Regions from separate parts of the Homo sapiens genome. Here region 1 is linked to region 2. The links are contacts of gene promoters, found by promoter capture Hi-C in blood cells and fetal thymus (Javierre and others, 2016). All regions are on one chromosome and are shown on one strand. Each heading gives the region's core, a stretch centred on a gene start or on the middle of the fragment in contact. The rest is flanking DNA. Distances are from core to core; before and after follow the strand shown. Region 1 holds the start of C4orf33 (chromosome 4 open reading frame 33). Region 2 holds the start of HSPA4L (heat shock protein family A (Hsp70) member 4 like).

Region 1 (5,014 bases), core at 163-2,662, 1.3 Mb after region 2:
ATATCTGATGGAAGGAATGAAAGAATTCAGTGGATGTTCATGAAAAGTATCTATTAGTATAAATTGAATACAAGGAATGACAAGCAGAAATGTATGTAGTTTGTGTGTAACTCTTGTCAAGCCACCATTTAATGTTTTTATATGACTTTTCTGCAATAAAGAAAACCCCTAAAGTTGTATAGATTGAAAATTAGTGACATTTCACTAACATTCATTTGGTTGATCAATTGACATTGAGCACCCAGTACTATGTGCAAAGTACCAGGAAGAATACAAAGTTAGAAGTTTAAGCAAGGATCAGAACAGATCACACAGCTGGCAAGTGCCTGAGTTGAGATTTGAACCCAGGCAGTATGGTTCTAATTTCACAATTGTTAACTGCTATGAACATGCCTCCCCAGGAATATAGTATAATATAGTTTATAGCTGGTATAATATAATTTATAGTTTTTGCTTATATGGCCAGTTAGCCTTTAGTTGTATTAAATGAAATATTTCTGTACATGTTATATTGTAATCTTAATGATTTACAGTTGATTTTCAAATTATTGCACAGTATTTATATTTCTGAATCACCCTTCCTTCTTCTAGGAAACCACTCATACTTTAGTGGAACGATTAGAAGTCTTCAGTTGTTCATGTGTGGCCCTTCAACATCTTTCTTTCCTAGAAAAATCAAGCGTCTTAGCTTCAGTGTTCTAAGCCCCTCCCCCAGAACGTGTAGGCAGCTGGGTGGAGCCTAAAGCCGAGCCCTCTCCTGTGACCTCGGCTGAAAAGAAGAAGCCAGTGTTTGAGAAAAGCTTCGTGGTCTGTGTTCTCTAGTTGTTCCCTCTTCTCTCTGACATTCCTTTCGTCGTCGCCAGGTCTTGTTTTTCGCTTGATCTCTGGAAAATACTGAAAAGTATTTTACTTTTCAGCTGTCTCCTGCTAAGTGAGCGTACTCCCCCTTTCAGGCTGACTTCCTCATTTCTCCGTTTCCCTGATAAATGGGCGGGGCCTCGGGGAGGTATGGAAACTGAAAAGAAATCATTATTGTAGAAAAACTAAAGAAATTTTTGTTGAGCAGAGGAATTTGGAAATTTTCCTTGCAGATCATTTGGTTGAGAAAACACCTTTACCATAACTTATTTCTTTTAAACTTTGCGGACATTTTTTCTTTTCCTGGGTTCTTAATGCTCCAGTGTTCGGTCTCCTTTCTCTTCCTTCGTTTCCTTTTAGAGGTCTTTCCAGGTAAAGATAAAGCAATCAGAACAATTGAAAATTTATTTTTTTAACTTGTTTTAAGAGCAATTTGAAGAATAGAGGTTAAAAGTAGAAACATACAGAGTAACAATAAATATTGTATTAAGAAAGTCTAAACAGCCAAACTTAAAATTGCATTGCAGGACAGTAATCATCTTGATAATATGCATTATGACTTTTCGGAAACGTTCAGCATATATAATATAAAGGGGAGAAGAGGCAGCCACCATACTCTTTTTAAGAGAACCGGCCTTAAATTAGACTTAAAATATATATATTTTTTTGAGACGGAGTCTTGCTCTGTTGCCAGGCTGGAGTGCAGTGGAGCGATCTCTGCTCACTGCAACCTCCGCCTCCGGGTTCAAGCGATTCTTCTGCCTCAACCTCCCGAGTAGCTGGAACTACAGGCGCGTGCCACCACGCCCAGCTAATTTTTGTATTTTTAGTAGAGACGGGGTTTCACCATGTTCGCCAGGATGGTCTCGATCTCCTGACCTTGTGATCCGCCTGCCTTGGCCTCCCAAAGTGCTGGGATTACAGGTGTGAGCCACCGCGCCCGGCCAAAAAATAATTTTAAACTGTTCAGTTACCTTAAAATAGTAATGCATGTCTGTCATAGTGTAAAATGCAGATAGGTTTTTAAAAAGTGATGAAGTTGAAAGGAAGCCTTCCTCCTTCCCATATCTGCAGGCAGATAATTCCCTTCAGGGAAGCAACCACTGTTACCACTCGTTTCTTGGATGTTTCCTGAGATAGTGTATGCCTCACAAGCATATATGCAAATAAGCTTCCTTTTTATTAAATAAATGCACCTTGCTTTTTTTCACTTCACAACATATTTTAGCATAGATGTTAATTCAGAGCTGCCTCATTCATTTTAGCAGTTATACAGTGTTTCATTGTATGGTATAGCATAATTTTTTTTACCAGTCCTCTACTGATGGGTATTTAAGTTGCTTCCAACATTTTGTTATTATGAACAATGCTACCACAAATATCCTCAACGCTTATGTCATTTTGAATATGTGCAGGTATAGTAACTCCTAGAACTAGACTTATTTTTGTCAAAGGATAGTTGCATTTTTATTTTGATAGATATTGACGTATTGCTCTTCACAGAGGCTATATCAATTATGCCTCACTAGCAATAAATGATTTTTTTCTCAATGCCTTCATTAACACAGCTTGTTGTCAGACTTTCTGATCCTTGCCAATCTAAGTGAAAAATGGTAATTTATTGTGGTTTTAGTTTGCATTTCTGTCATTATAAGTGAACATTTTGCATTTTCTCTCCGTGAACTGGCTGTTCATAATTTTTGGTCACTTTTCTGTTGGAGTGTTGGTCTTTTCCTTATTGATTTCTAGGAGCTCTTTGTGCATTAAAGAAATTAGTTATTTGTATCAAGTATGAATTGCATATACTTTTCCCCAGACTTTTGATTTTGTTAATGATAGGCTTTTGGAGTAAAGGGAACTTGGGAAGGAGGTTTTTGCTTTTTTACTATTATTTATCTATTATTAAAAAAATTCAACTTTTATTTTAGATCCAGGGTATATATGTGCGGGTTTGTCACATGGTTATATTGCATGATGCTGAGATTTGAGGTACGAATGATCCTATCACCTGGGTAGTGAGCATAGTACCCAGTAGTTAGTTTTTCAACCCTTGCCCCTTTCTTCCCTCCCCCCTCTAGTAGTCCCCAGTGTCTGTTGTTGCCATCTTTATGTCCATGAGTACCTACTGTTTAATTTCCACTTATAAGTGAAAATATGTGGTATTTGGTTTTCTGTACTTTCATGAATTTGCTTAGAATAATAGCCTCCAGCTGCATCCATGTTAGTTTTGCTATATTTATGTAGTAAAATGTTTGGGTTTTGGTTTGTATTTTAAAAGGTTTTCTCTACTAATGCAGGGAAAGCCCAGATTTGGGGCTCAGCCCAGGAGAGTTCTTGGCTTCATGCAGGAAAGGATTCACAAGCTAAAGCAAGTTTATCAGAGCAACAAACTACAGGAAAATGGCTGCTCCATAGACAGAGTAGGAGCAGCAGCTCCCATGAATTGTTGGCCAGCTGTATACATACAATTCCCTGGTTATATGCTAAATAAGGGGTGGGTTATTCATGCATTTTCCAGAAAAGTAGGAAGGGTTCCCAGAACTGAGAGTTCCTCCCTTTTTTAAACCATATAAGGTAACTTCTAGGAGTTGCCATGGCATTTGTAAACTGTCATGCCACTGTTGGGAGTTTTTTTTTGCATGCTACTGCATTATAATTAATGTATAATGAGCAGTGAGGGCAACTAGAGATCACTTTTGTTGCCATCTTGGTTTTAGCTGGTTGTGGCCAGTTTCTTTGCTGCATCTTGTTTTGATAAGATTCTGTTTCAATCAGTGGGACCTTGGTGCTCAGAAAACAAGCCCAGCTCATCTCCTACCTTACTACTATAAGATTTTATTTAACTCTCTTTTTATTTCCTGTTTTTATATGATTTTGATTTTTATGTTTAAATCTTTGATTCATCTAAAACTTACTTTGGTATAAGGATCCCACTGAATTAAATTGGACTGCAAAATGAACCAACTGATGTTGGAAACGGGTACCTCATTGATTAGTTACATGAGAACCATCCCAAACTCCTGTAGACTTATTATATATTATTTCCCCAGCACCTGGTATGGTACCTGAAATAAGATGAGTGCTTAATAAATGCTTGATAAACTAAATTGAAGGGAATTTCTGGGCTTATTATCTTTGTTATTAGCCATTGTATTGATCTGATATGTAGTGTTAAATGAGATGATGATACCACGAACACAGTAGATTTCTCCTGCACAAAATCTAGAGTGTTAGATCCAGGGACTAGAAAAATTATTCACTCAACAAATAAATAGTAACCATCACTTATAGGCATTCTAGCTGGGTTCAGGGAGTCAATAAACAAATATGTAATGCCATGTAATTGCCATGTAAGAATAGAAATAGAGCAGTGTATAGGTTAATAGAGAATGACCAGGAGGGGAGCGCTAGCCCAAGAGGTGAAGGACATTGACAATTAAGTTGTCTTTACTTAATGAACACATGTTCAAATACAAAGAAATTGAAAGGTTGTGGGGGTTAAATCTCAGAAGATTACAGAGGGAGAATCATCTGTCTCTAGTTTATGTTAGTTTTAAACTAGACTGTTAACTACTGGGCAGGACGGACTATACTTTTTAGGTTAATTTTTATAAATATTATGCATTCTTAGATTGACGTCAGTGTTCTTTAAGCGATATAAAGTTTAAAAAAAAAAACAAATTTGTCATTGCAATAAGAAACGAAAGTTGTTTATGCAATTAAAGCCAAAATTATATTCTGTCTTTGGACTGATCAGCCATGCACTATTCCCTACTTGTGGAAGTCTAGTCACTATTTTTTGCAGTAATTTTCAAATAATGCTCAAAGAAACCTTAGGGGGGAAAAGCAGAAGGAACCAGTAGAAAGGTTTGAGGTACTCACTACCTAATTCTTAACAATGGTAACTTTGCTTTTATCTTTTACTTCTTATCTTCCAGATAAAATTACATTTTGAAGTAATTTGAAACCTATGCAAGCTTGTCCAACCCAAGGCCCATGGACTACATGTGGCCCAGGACAGCTTAGAATGCAGCCCAACACAAATTCGTAAACATTATGGATTGTATTTTGATTTTTTTTTTTTTGGCTCATCAGCTATTGTTAGTGTTAGTGCATTTTATGTGTGGCCCAAGACACACATTCTTCTTCTTCCAAT
Region 2 (4,951 bases), core at 76-2,575:
GCAGGAACTATAGCCACCCTTGCTGCTGCTGCTGCTGTAGCAACATTATTAATAGTAAAAAATCTAAGTTATTTAAAGAAGTGGACAACTAGGGATAATCAGAATACTAAAGAATCTAGTAAACAAAACAAACAAACAAAAAAACACGCCTGTTTTCAAGATGGATACCAAAATGGAACAGGAAAACACACAAAGAATTGGATGAGAAGGAACAGAGACTAGATGAAGAGGACGGGGAGGAACAGGGAACAGACCAAGGACTGGCAGAGAAGGAACAGGGCACACACGTAAAAGTGAACGAAAAGCAACAAGACAGCCAAATTTCTTAAGTGTAACATAAAACTTGGTTAATTACAGACAGGCAACACATGCCGATCAAACCAAGAGGGAGGGCGCTGGACCACACTGGGCTCTTTTTTGAGGACCACAGGGCAGCGGCTGGAGGCTAAAGCACAGACTTGGCTGGTGTGAGTGGCACACTTAATTAAGGTCACTTTCCTGTAAAACTGGTTTCCAGAGACAAGGGTCAGCGGCGGGGCCAGCATCTTTTAGAAAGGTGTGAGGAAAGGTACGTGGAGGGAAAGTTGTCAGTGTGATCTTATTTCTTGACAGAAGTTTGACTTTTGATATTTCAAATCCTGCTGATGAAAAAAGAAAAAAACCTAACATGTGCTCATCCCGCTTTCGCACAAGAGTCTGTCCCGGGCTCGGCAGCTCCCCCGGGGCTGGACAGGGCGGAGCGGCGGACGTCGGACAATGCGCGCCACCTCACAGAGCCGGGCGCGGCGGGCCTCCAGCCACAAGGGGAGGGCGCCGGGCTGCACATGGGCCCCTCGGGGAGGCGAGGCCTGCGGGCGAGCCCTTCTGAGGGCAGGGGGTGAGGGGGCGGCGCCCGCCAGCCAGGACAGCATCCTGCCGCCGTGACAAGCACGCCTCCGGTTGCCAAAACAACCCAAAAATGTGCCTCAAAACACGTTCGCAAAGCCCCGGGCCGGCCGGTCGCCTGCCTCTCACCTAGCCCGACCGCCCGACGTCCTACTGCCGAGCGAGGGCGAGCAAGCCAATGTGCCTAGCCTCCTTTCCCCGATCCTCCCCGCCCCGCCTTCCCGCTTCTCCCGCCCCCGGATAGCTCAGCAGCCTCCATTTTCCAGATCTTTCTCGAACCCGCAGCTTCTTGGGCAGCCGTTGCCCGAGTGCTGACGGAAGCGGCCGAAGTCCGGGCCCGGAGCTGGCTCGGGCGCGGAGCGGAGGCTCGCGCGCCTCCCGGGCAGCCGAGCGCGCAGGCGCAGGTCCCAGTAACCGCCGGTTGGAGGCGGCCGAACCGCAGTAGGGAAAGACCCAGGCTGCGGGACGCGGTGCAGGCTGCGGCGCTGACGGCCTCTGCTCCTTCCGCGGGTTTCCGACTCCCTGCCCTAGATTTTCTGCTTAGCGACTTGGGGTCCCCTCTCGTTTGCTTCTGGTAGGAGTCGCAATCCCAGCAGCAATAGCCCAGAAGAGGACACGGTTCCCGTACCGAAGGGTTCAGTACCAGCAGCCCGACCATCACGCGGCGGGATGTCTGTGGTTGGCATTGACCTCGGCTTTCTCAACTGCTACATTGCTGTCGCGAGAAGTGGCGGCATCGAGACCATCGCCAATGAGTACAGCGACAGGTGTACCCCGTAAGTGCCTCTGCTGAGCATCACCTCGACCCTAAGAAACGTTTTTCTCTCCCGTCCTTAACGTTTGTCCTGTCTGCTCGCTTCCTCGGATTTTCCCCTAACGTGCGCCGAACCCCGAGATGACAGGTGCAACCCGTCAACCGCAGTCCCTAGAGACCGCCGGGTGGCAGTCGGACTTCCTCGCCCCGCAAAGCTTCTTTTCCTTCAAGGACGAGGGACCGCACTAGTTTGCGCAGCTCTCTTTTCTGTACCTACGCACGTCCCCTGCCTCGTGCCGCTGTCCCCCAACGCCTCTTTTGCTTGCGAGGAAGAGGTTGCTGTGGGACAGCCCCTGGCGTCCGGAATATTGAGAAAGATCTCCGGTTGCCTCTAACGAGGTTTACGTGGGATTATCGGCCCCGCGCCAGCTGCCCTCCTTCCTTTCCCCGTCCCTCTGGGTGACAGCTTTTTCTCAGAAAAGTAAAAAGTCAGCTTCGGCTGCACACGTCAGAGATGAATTGCAGGTTCATCTGGCCCCGAAAGCCTTTTTTTTTTTTTTAAGGGCGGGGAGTGAGGCATGTGGGGTTTTACAAAACCCAGTGCCCTTGAGAACTGCAGGTAATGGAGCCGGTTTACAGGGCCAGGTCAATGGTGCATTGATAGGGAGAGCCTCGGGATGGGAGTCACTGGCCTTGTGCATTGGTAACTACGTCAGTTGCTGGAATGCGGCGGGGTTGGGTCGGACCAAAAGCGTGTTTCTGCAGAGTGAATTGCCGGAGTCGGGGGCAGCTGTCCCGTATAAACATGACTGTGGAGTGATTCTATTATGAACGCTTAATGAAAGGCTTAGGAGGAGCGGCGTTATGTCATGGAAACATGTTTCCACATGTTCCGTTGTTTCTCTGGCCTGGGAAGTTTGTTGGCAAGGAATATAATGAAGTAATTCTGAAATATGAAAAACTAGTTGCTGCTTATAGGCTGCTGTTACTGGTAATTTTATGAGGAAACCAACTGTATGAAACCTATATTACTTTTTATGGAAAGGTAATTTGGCATCTTAATTTGACCGTTCTGAATGGTCCAAAATATAATACCTTAACTATACTAAAACAAGGTCAGTGTCCAATGGTCTTTAAATGCCTCATTTACTATTCTATGGAAAGCTTTAAAATATGGCAAAAAGATGTTGAAGAGTAGCTCACTTGAAGCAGTCTGTGCTTTGATTTCTTTCCAAGAAGATTCTAGAAGGTTTTATACCTTTTTTCGTAGATGTACACGTTTCTTCTATTGAAATTTTAAACGTTTTGGACGTTTATATTTTCAATACATGGGCATAGATAAGGTAATCCTCAATAATGTTTGAACTCTTCTACTTTTTACATCTTTTTCTGGCTTTTATGCACAGTGAGAGGCCGAAACAGTAACTGTGAAGTCGATGAATTCGTCTCTACAAGGTTTTATATTAAGCCACAACAAATACTGGCTTTCGCCAGAAACAGACCGGAAATTCCACTCTCCACCTTCAGCAGAGTAGGGGTTAAAAATGGGAGCAATCTTTGGCTTCATTGACTCTCAACCTATAGAGAAAAAACTGAGAGGTAGGGTGGACATTCTTTTAGTCCTTAAAGCCATATCCTAAAAGATCAGAAACCAGAACAGTAAGAAAGATCGATCTGCATTTCCAGGCTGAGAAATCTCTTTAGCAGTGAGTGAACCTGTGATTCTTTAAAGATCCTGGCCGGCCAGACTTAGTTCTTTAAAAAGTGGGCTTCTAGAGTCTTCTAAAAGTCTCTTTGTTATTGTACTTAGGCATATTCGCTGGTTCTGTGTGGTTGAGAAGTAATGTGATATTTCTGATTTGTGTGCTAGAAAGCCAATAGTAATATCTAGATTTAATGAGCCTAATCTAAACTAGAAAGTTCTTAAAAAGTGAAAGGATATTCTCACTTAGCTTGCATCAGCAACTCTTCTCTCCATGGCTGGGCACTGTCACTTACCTCAGAAGTGTATCTTTTGTTGTTTCTGAACAAAAGTACTTCATGGTAGTGTAGTGCTCTTACACTATGTATTACTTTGTGGGTCCAATTGTTGAGGAAAAACATAGCCCTTCCGGGCCTCAGGACATTTATCCATCAATTCAACACCGATCATGCAAAAAGCATTGTAACTATTAGATAACCTTTAACTTCTCTAATACACCACAGTATTTAATAACACACATAAATAAAATGTTAGCTTTGCAAATAAAATGTTTTTCATATTCCAATTGCTTACATCAAGGTAATGTGACATATTTTCTAAGATGTGAATACATTATAAAATGATCCTATGAAAAGAGGAAAGAAATGTTCAATTTAGTTGTTTTCAGCATTCATACATTTTACGTTTCTTTCATTAACATATTTGATTGCTTATGGTTGAGAGGATTCCATATAAACCAAGAAGGACAGTTTAATGAAAAAGAACCAAGTTTTGGCCTATAATTAAGGGACAAAAGACAAGTTAATTTAACCTATTTAATTCAGATTCACCTTCTGTAAAGTTAGAGTGTTTATACTAGCCTCTCATCTCCTGCATAAGTTGAAGAGGGAGAGAGAAATTAACCTGCATAAATTGAAGAGACAAAATAATTTTCCTGAACATCTTATTGAAAAATTATTACATAATAATATGTGCTCATTATAAAAAATACTGGCACATTAAAAGGTGAAATTAAAAATTTAATTCCTCCAGATGGTTTTCTGTGTGTGTTTTCAAAGGGAAGGGGAAGTATTTACTTTATGTTTAGTAACCTTTTTCTTTTTTTCTTTTTTTTTTTAAGACGTAGTCTTGCTCTTGTTGCCCAGGCTAGAGTGCAGTGGCGCGTTTTCAGCTCACTGCAACCTCCGCCTCCTGGGTTCAAGCGATTCTCCTGCCTCAGCCTCCCGAGTAGCTGGAATTACAGGCAACGACCACCACGCCTAGCTATTTTTGTATTTTTAGTAGAGACGGGGTTTCACCATGTTGTCCAGGCTGGTCTCGAACTCCTGACCTCAGGTGATCCACCCGCCTCGGCCTCCCAAAGTGCTGGGATTACAGGTGTGAGCCACTGCACCCAGCCTATGTTTAGTAACCTTTTTCTATGTAAAACATACATATTTCTATACTATCAGTTGTAGTGTCTGTATAATCATGATAATTTAATCCATAGCCTAATAATTCAGGTTGTTTATGATACTTTGTAAACAGTGTTGCAATAACTATCTTTGTAACTAAATTTTTGATCCTTCAAGTAAATTCCTAGAAGTAGAATTACTGAGTGTCCACATTTT

The links. Contacts are between HindIII fragments. The CHiCAGO score rates a contact against its expected background, and 5 or more counts as called.
Region 1: a fragment that was not itself captured here is called in contact with the fragment with the promoter of HSPA4L in region 2 in 2 of 17 cell types (erythroblasts and fetal thymus); the score reaches 7.6 in erythroblasts.

What each region holds. Positions count from the first base shown.
Region 1 is chr4:129,095,403-129,100,416 of GRCh38, forward strand. C4orf33 (chromosome 4 open reading frame 33) reads left to right here and starts at 750. Exons shown (of 6, transcript NM_001099783.2): 1 at 750-807. The HindIII fragment of the contact is 1,229 bases long and covers 799-2,027 here.
Region 2 is chr4:127,780,997-127,785,947 of GRCh38, forward strand. It overlaps HSPA4L (heat shock protein family A (Hsp70) member 4 like), which reads left to right and starts at 1,326. Exons shown (of 19, transcript NM_014278.4): 1 at 1,326-1,661. The coding sequence starts at 1,555. RefSeq lists silencers at 687-856, 1,137-1,206 and enhancers at 1,347-1,496, 1,396-2,388, 1,997-2,076, 3,488-3,727. The HindIII fragment of the contact is 4,318 bases long and covers 1-1,852 here.